3 separate regions of the Homo sapiens genome follow, and all the other regions are linked to region 2. The links are contacts of gene promoters, found by promoter capture Hi-C in blood cells and fetal thymus (Javierre and others, 2016). All regions are on one chromosome and are shown on one strand. Each heading gives the region's core, a stretch centred on a gene start or on the middle of the fragment in contact. The rest is flanking DNA. Distances are from core to core; before and after follow the strand shown. Region 1 overlaps MYO5B (myosin VB). Region 2 holds the start of DYM (dymeclin). Region 3 overlaps MYO5B (myosin VB).

Region 1 (3,703 bases), core at 559-3,058, 400 kb before region 2:
TCCTCCAAAAAGGCAGAGCAAAAGCCTTGCTGCCCTGTCAGCATGACCTTCCCTGGGGGATGCAGCTACAAGCTTCTGGACTCTTCTGAAGTTAATATGAAGATGTTTAATAGGTAACCTCAGGGTGGCCTTTTCACCTTATACCCCTTGCTGTTTGCTTTCTGAAGTGGAGAGAGTCATTGGTCCTCCTCAGTCCCCCAGGGTGGCAAGTCCTATTCACTGTATTTTCCTAATGTTCTCACTTTCTGGGGCAGACTAGAGCCAGAGGGTGGGGACAGAGGCCACGTGGGTCACTCCATGGGCTCTAAAAACCTGAGCCACTTCTGGGCATGAGCCTCGGGACAGCTGGGGTAAGCAGGTGCTGAGGAGTGTGGAGGATTCCAGCTGAACCAGGGTCTACCTGTGTGCTCTGGACTTGGGTGCTCTCTCCTCCCAGGGGCACCTCCTGGCCATCTTCCCCCACCGCCCCACATGCAGCTCTGTCTCAGCCTGGCCTCGTTGTTCTGTGTCTCTTCCAAGATGACCTTTTGGAGTCATGTTCCTGGCGTGGGTTTGATTGTGGTTATCTCTGTTCTTTCCAGGCCTTTGTCTTTTCCCAAAGGCATGTTTTTATACCTGTTTGTATATAAAGCCATTTTGTGGCAATTGTTTAACCAGAGTTATTTTTTTATCTGGGGCTTTCTAGGAGCCGAACATTAATGCCAGATCAAGTTGGCCTAACAGTGAAAAGCATGTTGACCAGGAGGATGCCATTGAGGCCTATCACGGGGTCTGCCAGACAAACAGGTAAGGCCGCCGCGGTCAAATGTGCTGGACGAGGCCGCGGAGAAGGGCCCTGCCCAAACGAGTCTGTTTGGGGTTTTCCTCAGGTGATGACCATGTGCTCAGCATCAGAGAATTATTTATTAGAGGACACAGAAAGACTGACTCAGAACCCCTGCCCTACTGTTAGCTCAGCAAGGCTCGAGCAACACGCTCTCAGCATCTAGAGCCCAGGTCCCCTGAAAAGGATTAGGAAAAAGGAGCTTCCCTGGGAGGATGACAGGAGTGGAATAGGAAGGTCTGGCTGAGAACAGCTTTTCTTCTTGAGAGGATGCTGGCTGGGGAGGGGGGTGGGGGGTGGCTAACTGGCAGCAGAGGGCTGCTTAGCCATCTGCTGCAATGCCCTTCTCATGCATGCAGTGTGTGTCACACAGTGGGGGCCCACCCTCTGTCATTCAGAACAGATGGAACCCAAGCTGGGCACTTGGGGGTGGAATGGAAGCATTTCACCTCCACCGTCTTAGCCAAAATGAGATCTCCCTGGATGTGAGTTTAGCAACCACTGTCCCCTCGAAAATAAGCTGAGCCAGGGTTAAGGCAAGCAAGAGTGATTGTCTGAGGGCAGCAGCAGGGCCAAGCGTTGTCAGCAGACAGAACGCAGACCCCCAAGGCAGAGTGTCTGAGAAGGTGCACTGCAGAGTCCACTCCTCACGGTTTAGTAGCGGTCACATGACCGATAGGTGCCTCAGTTGCCTCATCTGTGAACTGGGGACAGCCATAGCGGCATCCTTCCTGTGGCTTTGGGAAGATGGGGTGAGCTCCTATCACCTGTGTAAGGGACTTAGGACAGTGCCTGCCTGTGGTGCGCACATGATGAGTGTTACTGCCGTGATACTGTTGTTATCATCTGCTTCCTCATGCCCCTGTGGGCACCTATAAAAACGGAGCTGTCTGGCCGAGCATAGTGGCTCACACCTGTAATCTAAGCACTTTGGGAGGCTGAGATGGGCAGATCACCTGAGGTCAGGAGTTTGAGACCAGCCTGGCCAATGTGGTGAAACCCTGTCTCTACTAAAAATACAAAAATTAGCCGGGCGTAGTGGCGGGTGCCTGTAATCCCAGCTACTCAGGAGGCTGAGGCAGGAGAATTGCTTGAACCCAGGAGGCGGAGGTTGCAATGAGCCGAGATCATGCCATTGCACTCCACCCTGGGCAATGAGAGCAAAACTGTGTCTCCAAAAAAAAAAAAAAAAAACATGGAGCTGGCCTCTTCCCTGGCTACCTTTCTCTCTTACCTCAACTAATAGAATGTTGATCAAGTATTTGTTCAAAATTGGTGAAAATAGCAAACATTTCCCAAAAATGTCATTAGGTGGCACTGTGAGTGCCACTTTAAGTTTTTTTGCAAGAATGTCACAGAGTCACTGAAGACTTCTGGTACTTTGATTCCCAGATCTTTTCATCCAGTCCCTCTTTCTGCAGAGAAGGAGACTGAGGCCCGGGGGGGTGGAACAGCTTAGGCCCACGGGTGGCCTGTGCCTGAGTCAAGGTAGAATCCGGAAGGCCTGACTCAGGCTGGGGCAGTTTCCAGCCACTGAGTAGGTAATCAGAAGTTGAAGGTGGTGTCACAGGCTCCAGGAGGAAATTAAATTTATTTCAAGAGAGGTATAATTCTTTTCCCTAAAGGAGGGAGAAAAGGAATGAAGGTGACTCTCTCAGTGCTAAAACTGGAGTCAAGATTTAGTCATTTTAAATTATCTTGGGTTGAAGATAAGAAATGAGATGAATAAGAAAAAGCCCAGGTGATACTAAAGTAGAAGGGAAGAAGCAGCTGTGTGCTTGGTCTGACAAGCGGTGTGCGTATCTCCCCGATCTTCAGAGCCGTCACCATTGGCAGCCTCTTTTATTCATGCAGCGGTTGTCAGGGATCCAGACCCCAGTTTAGGTTTTCCCAGGGGCTGCTTAATACCCTGGATTTGTCTTCCTTTACAGCAATAATAATGATGGTGATAAAATAAAAATAGCTTTTATTATATCTTAAAATAATTCTGTTCCCAGCAAGCCTGGTGTACAATAGGAAATTAATAGCCTGTGAAACTGAGTTAAGTACAGAAAAGGAGCTGGCTGCCCTGGGGAGTGGAGGCCTGAAGAGCCAGCTTCGCAGTGTGTGCTGCACCAGGTGCTGTGGAAGTGGCCATGGTGGGCCTGCCTCTCTCCCAGTCTGGCCTTTAGCTTTGGGAAGTGTTCATGATTGCTGCAAATCCCAGCATTGAGGGAGGAGAGGCAGGGAACAGGGACCCAACTGGGATTCTGTGGAGCCCATGACAAGGGGATTCCCATTACCATGAGGGCCACCCTGGCAACTGGGGTGCTTTGGAGATAGACAGCTGCTCTGCGTTTCCTACAGTTTTCCTGTAATGGAGAGTTCTACTGTTTAAATATAAATTATATCTACACATGTGTGATTTGTGAAAGACCATTTAGAATTTTGATGACATCTATCCTCTCCCTAGAGGAAGTTACACTCATATGCTGAATTTTGCTTAGATTTCTGGGGGCTTCCATCACATTCCCAGTCATAGCCTCTTTAAGCATTCATGATCCTCAAGTTCAGAACTTTTATCACTTGCTAACCTTCATAAGTTTGTAGAGTTTTGTTTTGGTCCCTATAACTGTGTCTTTTCCCTTGTTTTGAACTCTGGGGAGAGAAGCTATTATTGAGGAGCTGCTCTGAGAGGAGCTGCAGGAATGCGGGTGGCACTTCTGCTTCCACAAAGCTTTCTCCTTTTTTACCTCTGGGAACTAAGAGACACCAGCATCATTATCACCATTTTATATATAGGAAAATGAAGGGGGAAGAGGGCTGTGAACATGAGCTGGGTGCTGGGCAGTTTGTCTTCTTTTCAGGGCTGTATATGGGAGAAGGATGGGGAAGTGGTTT
Region 2 (3,517 bases), core at 497-2,996:
ATACATAGGTATTATAAATATTATAGTAAACATATATTACATATGTTATATTAATATATCATTTAATATATTAATATAAATATTATATTAAGTGGCAAAACCACAATTAGTTTTGCACCAACCTAATATAATTCACTTATGAAAATTTGATACTATATATGTTTCCACTCAGTGTATCATGAAAATGTTTTCAAATAAATATGCATCCATAGCATTCTTTACAATGACTGCATAGTAGTGTCTATGGCTTTTTAGTTAGGTAGTTTGGGGTTTTTTTTTTTTTTTGAGACAGTGTCTCGTTCTGTTGCCCAGGGTAGAGTGCAATGGTGAGATTATGGCTCCCTGAAGCCTCAACCTCCCGGGCTCAAGCGATTTTCCCACATCAGCCTCCCGAGTAGCCGGGACCGAGGGTGTGCCAACCACTCCCAGCTAATTTTTGTATTTTTTGTTGAGACAGTGTATCGCTATGTTGCTCAGGCTGGTCCTTCCGAACTCCTGGGCTCAAGTGATCCTCCCACCTTAGCCTCCCAAAGTATTGGGATTACAGGCATAAGCCACAGGGCCCAGTCTACTTTGGGTTTTAATATGTTTTCCTGTCATAATTCTGCAAGCTCAGTGAATTTACTGGCAGTCTATGCTAGAAAAGAATACCTAATATTTGTATAGTACTTTACAGAGTACACTGGCACATATTGACTATATAATGGGAATAACGGTGCTATCTGTTCCATAGGGTCATTTTGCGAAATAATAGTGCATGGCAAATAGAAAATAATCCATAATGTGAATTGTTATTACTACAGTCATGTCAACATTTCCTGTAATGGCAGAATCATCATCATGCATATATTTTAGGTGAGGAAACTGGCTGAGAGAGGTGAAGTAATTGCTCAAAGACGTCAGTGTGGAAACCTCAGCTCATTTGACTTCAAATTCCATAGTTTTGGCACTATCTCATATTGCTACTCTTTCCCGTGGGACCTGTCCTTTCCGACAACTTTGCAGGCAGGGCTAGCCCTGCCAGCTGCCTCCATCAAAAATTATTTTGCTATTTCTCAATTCTCCAGAATCCCACACAATATTGCTTGACTTTGGGATGGTTATTCAGCTGCAATTAACAGAGGCCTTAATAAGGTTAAGCCGCCAGAACGAGCGGTGTAGCATGAGCGAGGACTCTAGCACCTGGCAGGTGAGGTTGACTCTAGCACCCGGCAGGTGAGGTTTTTGCGCTTCTCTCTCTCTCTCTTTTTTTTTTTTTGAGAAGAGTCGAGCTCTGTCGCAAGGCTGGAGTGCAGTGGCCCGATCTCGACTCACTGCAATCTCCGCCTCTCGGGTTCAAACGATTCTCCTGCCTCAGACAGCTACTTTTTGACTCACTGCAATCTCCGCCTCTCGGGTTCAAACGATTATCCTGTCTCAAACAGCTACTTTTTGTATTTTTAGTGGAGACGGGGTTTCACCATGCTGGCCAGGATGGTCTCGATCTCCTGACCTCGTGATCCGTCCACCTCGGCCTCCTAAAGTGCTGGGATTACAGGCGTGAGCCACCGCGCACGGCTGTTTTTGCGCTTCTCGATTTCGCCACGTGGCTTTGCGGTAGCCCAGGAGGTACTAGGAGGGCGGAGGCACGAATAACACCCAAAGGACTACAGTTTCCAGAAGCCCGCGCGCGCCGCGTGCCACGTGACCACCTGGCTGGCGCGCGCGCCTGGGGGTCTGGTCCCTAGCCGCGTTCTCGGTCGCTTCCCTCTTCTCTCGCCGCCTCCTGGCCTCCGCACCGACGCGGCCCGGGCTGGAGCCGAGCCGGGGCCGAGCTGCAGGCCGGACCGGAGCCGGATCTGTACCCGCTGAGACGTGGAAACATGGAGGCCTGAGCCGGTGTGCGCCACCTGGGCTGCGGCGGCGACAGCGACTTCTCCTGACCCCTCTGCCACCCTCCCATCCGTCCGCGGGTCCGTGGAGCTGGAGCAGATCCCCCAGCCGGCTGAGACAGGTGGGCTGTAGCGCCGCCCCCCTCAGCGCGGCCGGGCCCGAAAGCCTGGCTGTCCCCGGCCTCCTGTCAGAGGGGGTCAGGGGCCACCCTCCGCAACCCGGCCAGCGCCCCGGGGCGGCGGCGAAGGGACCCTCCCTTCCCTGCCCGCGGGCGCCTGGGCCACCCGGAGGGGCTGTGCTGACAGCGGACGGACCTCTGTCCGAGTCCGCTGTTGGGAGTTGGGGGATACCGAAGGCCAAGTCGGTGCTTCCGGAGATGGGGCGGTGTTGGTCTGACAAATGGGCGTGTGATGGGCAGGGTGAGCAATAGCTGTTGGGTTTTTCTTTCTTCTTTTTACATTCATAGTTTATCGAGGTATAACTAACATATCAGAAAATTAACCCTTTAAAAGTACAACTCAGTGGTTTTTAGTATATTCACAGGGTTGAGCAGCCATCACCACCCTTAACTCCAGAGCATTTTTAATCACCGCCCCCCCCGCCCCAAAGAAGCTCGTACCCATTAGCAGTCACTCCTCCTTCTCTCCCCTACACTATTGATCTACTTTCAGTCGCCGTGGATTTGCCTGAGCAATTGTGTTTTGACTGAAAAGTGAAAGGGTGGGTGTTTGTGAACTGGGGGCAGTAGTGGGGTTTGAGGGTATTGGTGTGGTAAAGCTGATTGGATAAAGCTGTTCTCTACTGAACAGGGGTAGAGAAGTGATGGGATGATTGTAATCGGCCAGCAAAGCGGGTACCCAGGATAGACTGATTAGGGGGCACAGATGGAGTGAGTTCCTTGAAAGAGGAGAGGGGAAGTTGGAGAGAGGGGTGTGTAGAGCAAGGGTGATGTGCTGAAGGATGAAAACCTGGAGGGTGGAGGCCGTGGAGAGGAATGTAGCGTCCACCAGAGGAACTCAGGTGCTTAGGCTGATGAGTTGAGGGCTCAAGAGAAGAACGAGGTGGAAGGGAAGAGAATCTATAGGAATGGGTGAATGGTTGTTGCAGAGGATGAAATTTATGAATATATGGATTTCTGGAGTGATTATCCTGCTTTGAAGTTTTATTTTAGATAATCCTCTCAGCAACTTGGAGATAGACCGGACAAGTATGAATATTCCCATTCTGTAAATGAAGAACTAGTCTTTTAGAGGTTAGGTGTCTGCCTTAAGCTCATAAACTGAGTACATAGGGCAAAATGAGTTGGAATAATTGATGAAACTATCAGTCGCAAGTGGATTAAATGGCAGAGAACTGAGTTGGGGCAATGTTAATAGGAAGGAGATTCAGCTATTAAGAAGTCTGTGTTGTTACGACATATAGGTCAAGGAGTTTTTATGTTTTTGCACCTTTTAACCATAGAAAAGTTCACACAGTGAAATAATAAAGGGTACTCCCATGTACCCATTACCCAGCTTCAGCAGTTAACTCATGCCAATTTAATTTCATCTATGTCCCTATGCATTCCTATCCCCACTCACAATTATTTTAAAGCAAATCATAGACATTCAATTTCATCTGTAAATATTTCAATATATATCTGTAG
Region 3 (3,711 bases), core at 684-3,183, 380 kb before region 2:
CCACTCCCCACACCTACTCTCATCCTCCCCCCAGCTCCTGCTGTGTCCAGCTGCTATTCTCGATGGCAAGACCCACTGCTTCTTTGTTCTGCCCATACGATGGAAGTGGGAGGGGAGCCACCCACATGCTTTTCCTCAGCAGCAGCCACAGCCCCCTTTCCTTGGTGCAGCTCTCTGCAGGCCACAGTGCTTTGGCAATGATGGAAGCTCATGCTTTTGGAGCACATCCTCTACCAGACTCATCCCTCCTTTAATCCTCACAACCTCCCTTTAAGTCAGAACTGCTGCTTTCTCATTTTACACTGAAGGAAACAGAGACTCACTCTAGTAACTTGCCCAGGTCACACAGCTGGGAAGCAGTGGATCAAGGATTCAGACTCCTTCTGTTTGGTTAGGACTTTACAGTTTAAAGTGCTGTGTGGTACAGCACATGTGGGTGTGGTCTCTGGAATCACATGGGCTGTGTTCAGACCTGGCTTCTTTCCTAACTAGCCGCACATGGCCGTGGCTGTGCTACTCACCAGTGTTCTTGTGTAGAGCACAGGAAAGGGGATCATGCCGCTGGCATGGAGTTGTGAGAATGAAAGTTCGTATTTCGTTGCTCATACATGGTCCCTGGACCAGCAGCATCAGCATCAGCATCAGTATCACCCCTGGGAAGGGGTGAGAGATGCAGAGTCTCGGGCTCCGTGCCAGGCCTCCTCAATTGCAAGGCACATAACAAGATGCCAGGTGACATTCACAGGCTCATTAAAGTGAGGAATGCTGAGCTTCTGCAGTCTGTCTGGGATCACCCTGGTCCCACTGTCAAAGTTCATCAGGGTTGGCTTTTACTGTCCCTGCGATCATCTGCAGTTTCTTATCCAGGCATGTGGCTGAATCAGGGCTGGCCTGCCAGCCTCCCACCCCCATGTGCTCCCTGGGGCCACCAGGCAGCTGTGAGAACCACTGCTCAGAATTCCTTCCCCAGCTGGGCTCCTAGGACTGAAAGACCTTCCACACTAGCTGCCAAGAGGGCAGGGTTTTCTCTGTGAAAAGAGGAGCCCCCGCCACCCCTCCGAGTCCCTCTTGGCTGCTCAGCAAGGGCCAGGAGGGAGTCTGTGTGACCTGTGCAGCTTGCTCAGGTTTGTGCCCAGTGCTGCTTTGCCAGTCGTACCAGCTCCCTCCCCTCCAGTCTTGTGCCCCATCTGCCACAGGCCACTGCAACAGGCCACCTCCCTGCTCTGTACCAACCCAGTCCAGCATCCCCCTGCAGAGCCAGGAAGAGTCTTAGAGGAGAGAGTCCTGTGGGAAAGAGGAGAAATCTTTGGTGGTCTGATCCTCTGGACCCTGAGCCAGCAGCTCCCTTCTTTATGGCACCTTAGTGAAATGGGATGATGACACTGACCTGCCTGCCCCATGATGTGAAGTGTGTCAAAGGCGAAATGCTGTGTTAAAACTGCAAAACCCTTCTCAAATGTGAGGCTTTCAAAGGAGTGGTAGCTTTTGCAGGAATATTTGAAGTTCAAATAAGAGGCAAGGCAAGCATTATTTTAGAGAAACTTATGTAAGACTGAAGTCCGACTCTGCTGAGCACTGTGCCTAGGGCCGAGGGACCCAGGAAGAACAGATTGTGACATCTGCCTTAAACAGATTTGCTCCAGCTGTTTGGTTTGTGTGTTTTTAGTAGCCTGCTTCTTAGATGTATTTTGCTCTTTTAAAAAGCTTAATCTCCCCTACAGTTGTCCAGCAATTAATTAAATGTGGTGTAAGTTTATCTTAAACTTCCTTAAACAGACTGCATCTTGTTCAAATGCAATTAGGAACAAACCTTTCATCTCTGGTGAATGAAACTTTCAATAAATAAGGCTGCTTGTGTCAGACAGGTGGCTCCCTCCTGCCATTTGCCAGGGTTTTTACAGAGAAAACCCTGCCATCAGCATGAGATGACCCTTGCTCAGGTGGCCCCAGGAAAGGTCATCTCCTGCTGAGCTACCTAGGAAAATCCTGCAGTCATCTTCCCTCCAAAAGACCCCATCCAAACAAATGCCAAAACTTGACTGCCGACCACCTACCTCTTAGGTACCTGGCACTGGCCAGTTGCTGTGGAGGAGAAATAAAACTAGTGTCATCGTCTCTTCCCCAAGATGCTAACATTTAGCTGGGGCACCCAAACAAGCTTTATTTAATCACAATAGAACATTCCAAGACAGGACAAGTTGTTTGCAATCTGCACATGGATCAGGTTTGAAGTAAGAAGTTATGGATTGGAAGTCTGGGCCTACAAAATACATTTTCCTGGATAAATGACTGGCATTCTAACTAGAGCCAATGGCCAATCCACAGCCATCTGCTGGACCTATAAAATGGCCAAATGTCAACCATGTACTCAAGAGTATTATGGCCTACAGTTATCATTTAACTAGAAGGATGCGTTGGAGCAGGGACAATGTAACCCAAGTACCAACTGGAGCTGCTGGCAGCAGAGCCCAGCCCAGGACCAGCCTGGTAGAAGGTTTGCAAGGATACTGCCCACCTGCAGGTGGGAGGGAGGTGGCCTCCCTTCATTGCCATTCTGAGCCTACAGGTGGCTCATGAGGCCTCGTTTGGGAGGGTATGAGTGTAAAGAACAAGGGCTGGAGATACAGTGCAGAGCTATGGTGAGACCCCTGGGGCCTTGTGCTCCTGCCCCATTCTCACCTGTCATCTTGCCTTTGCACCAGGCCTTTCCCCCTAGTTCTCTGGCCTTCTACCACCACCTGTTGCCTTAAGTCTGGCTCAGCTGGCATGGTCTGGAATAGAAAATGGTCTGACAGCTGCTTCCTGTCCCTCCAGGGCCTTTTGCAAGAAAGGGCCAAAGGGCTGAGTCTGCAGTTAATGGGGAGACTCACAAGGCCCTTCCAGTCCAGCCAGAGCAGCCCTTGCCCAGGCAGGGACAGGAGTGTGGGATACAGAGGAGAGCAGTTGGGGGAAGTAAGAGAGCCGCTGGAGAGATGCATGCCAAGCAGCAGCACCGGGGTGGGGAAGGGGGGCCTGCCTGATCTATTTGGCTGTGAAGCTGGGCAAGCACGGCTGGGTAATTTGTTCCTGAACTGATGGGCCAGAGATTGTTCCAACCTCCCTAGCCCTCAGCAGGCTGGCCCTGTCTTTGGGCACATACAATTTGTCTAATTCTGGAGCCAGCCCTTGCCTTCTGGAAGTGGTGGTGCCCACGAATCAGGAGTTCCTGCCCCCATGTGGGAGCTAGGCCCTGTCCTCAGCCTTCCACTTGCCATGGGCCCCTGTTGGCTGCGGACTGAGGCATCTGTGTAACTTGCAGGCACTTTTCCTCCATATTGTTAGGCTGAGGCATTAGAAGCCTGTTTCAGGGTTATAGTGCAGACAATTAGGAATGTGGTTTTGTTTGTTTGTGTTTTTAACCACAGTGTCTGAAACTACTGGTAGGCATGCTCGGGAGTTTGGGTACCCTGGGTGGCTTCTCTCCCAATCCTCTTTGAGACATCTATTCCTAGATGAGCTATGGGGAAATATTGAAAACACGTCTATTCAGATGAGGATTCTGACAGCCTCCATTGTCCCCCATAGATCTAACTTGCCATTTGCTGCTCTCGTTGCCCTTAGACTTGAAGCCCCAGATGCTGTCGGGCACAGTGCCCTGTCTCCCCGCCTACATCCTCTACATGTGCATCCGGCACGCGGACTACACCAACGACGATCTCAAGGTGCACTCCC

Evidence for each region. The method cuts DNA at HindIII sites, captures the fragments that hold promoters and counts their contacts. A CHiCAGO score of 5 or more calls a contact.
Region 1: a fragment that was not itself captured here is called in contact with the fragment with the promoter of DYM in region 2 in 3 of 17 cell types (megakaryocytes, endothelial precursors and erythroblasts); the score reaches 7.6 in megakaryocytes.
Region 3: a contact is called between a fragment that was not itself captured here and the fragment with the promoter of DYM in region 2, in 2 of 17 cell types (megakaryocytes and total CD8 T cells). The highest score is 5.3, in megakaryocytes.

Annotation. Positions count from the first base shown.
Region 1 is chr18:49,860,310-49,864,012 of GRCh38, reverse strand. It overlaps MYO5B (myosin VB), which reads left to right. Exons shown (of 40, transcript NM_001080467.3): 29 at 686-786. Among named protein-coding and RNA genes, the nearest start is that of SNHG22, 48 kb to the right of the region's middle. The HindIII fragment of the contact is 3,467 bases long and covers 75-3,541 here.
Region 2 is chr18:49,458,874-49,462,390 of GRCh38, reverse strand. DYM (dymeclin) reads left to right here and starts at 1,746. Exons shown (of 18, transcript NM_001353214.3): 1 at 1,746-1,993. RefSeq lists a silencer at 1,768-2,347. The HindIII fragment of the contact is 8,649 bases long and covers 1-3,517 here.
Region 3 is chr18:49,843,282-49,846,992 of GRCh38, reverse strand. MYO5B (myosin VB) reads left to right here. Exons shown (of 40, transcript NM_001080467.3): 34 at 3,601-3,711. All of the region lies in intron 3 of SNHG22 (small nucleolar RNA host gene 22), which reads right to left. Among named protein-coding and RNA genes, the nearest start is that of SNHG22, 31 kb to the right of the region's middle. RefSeq lists enhancers at 1-320, 1,043-1,544. The HindIII fragment of the contact is 454 bases long and covers 1,707-2,160 here.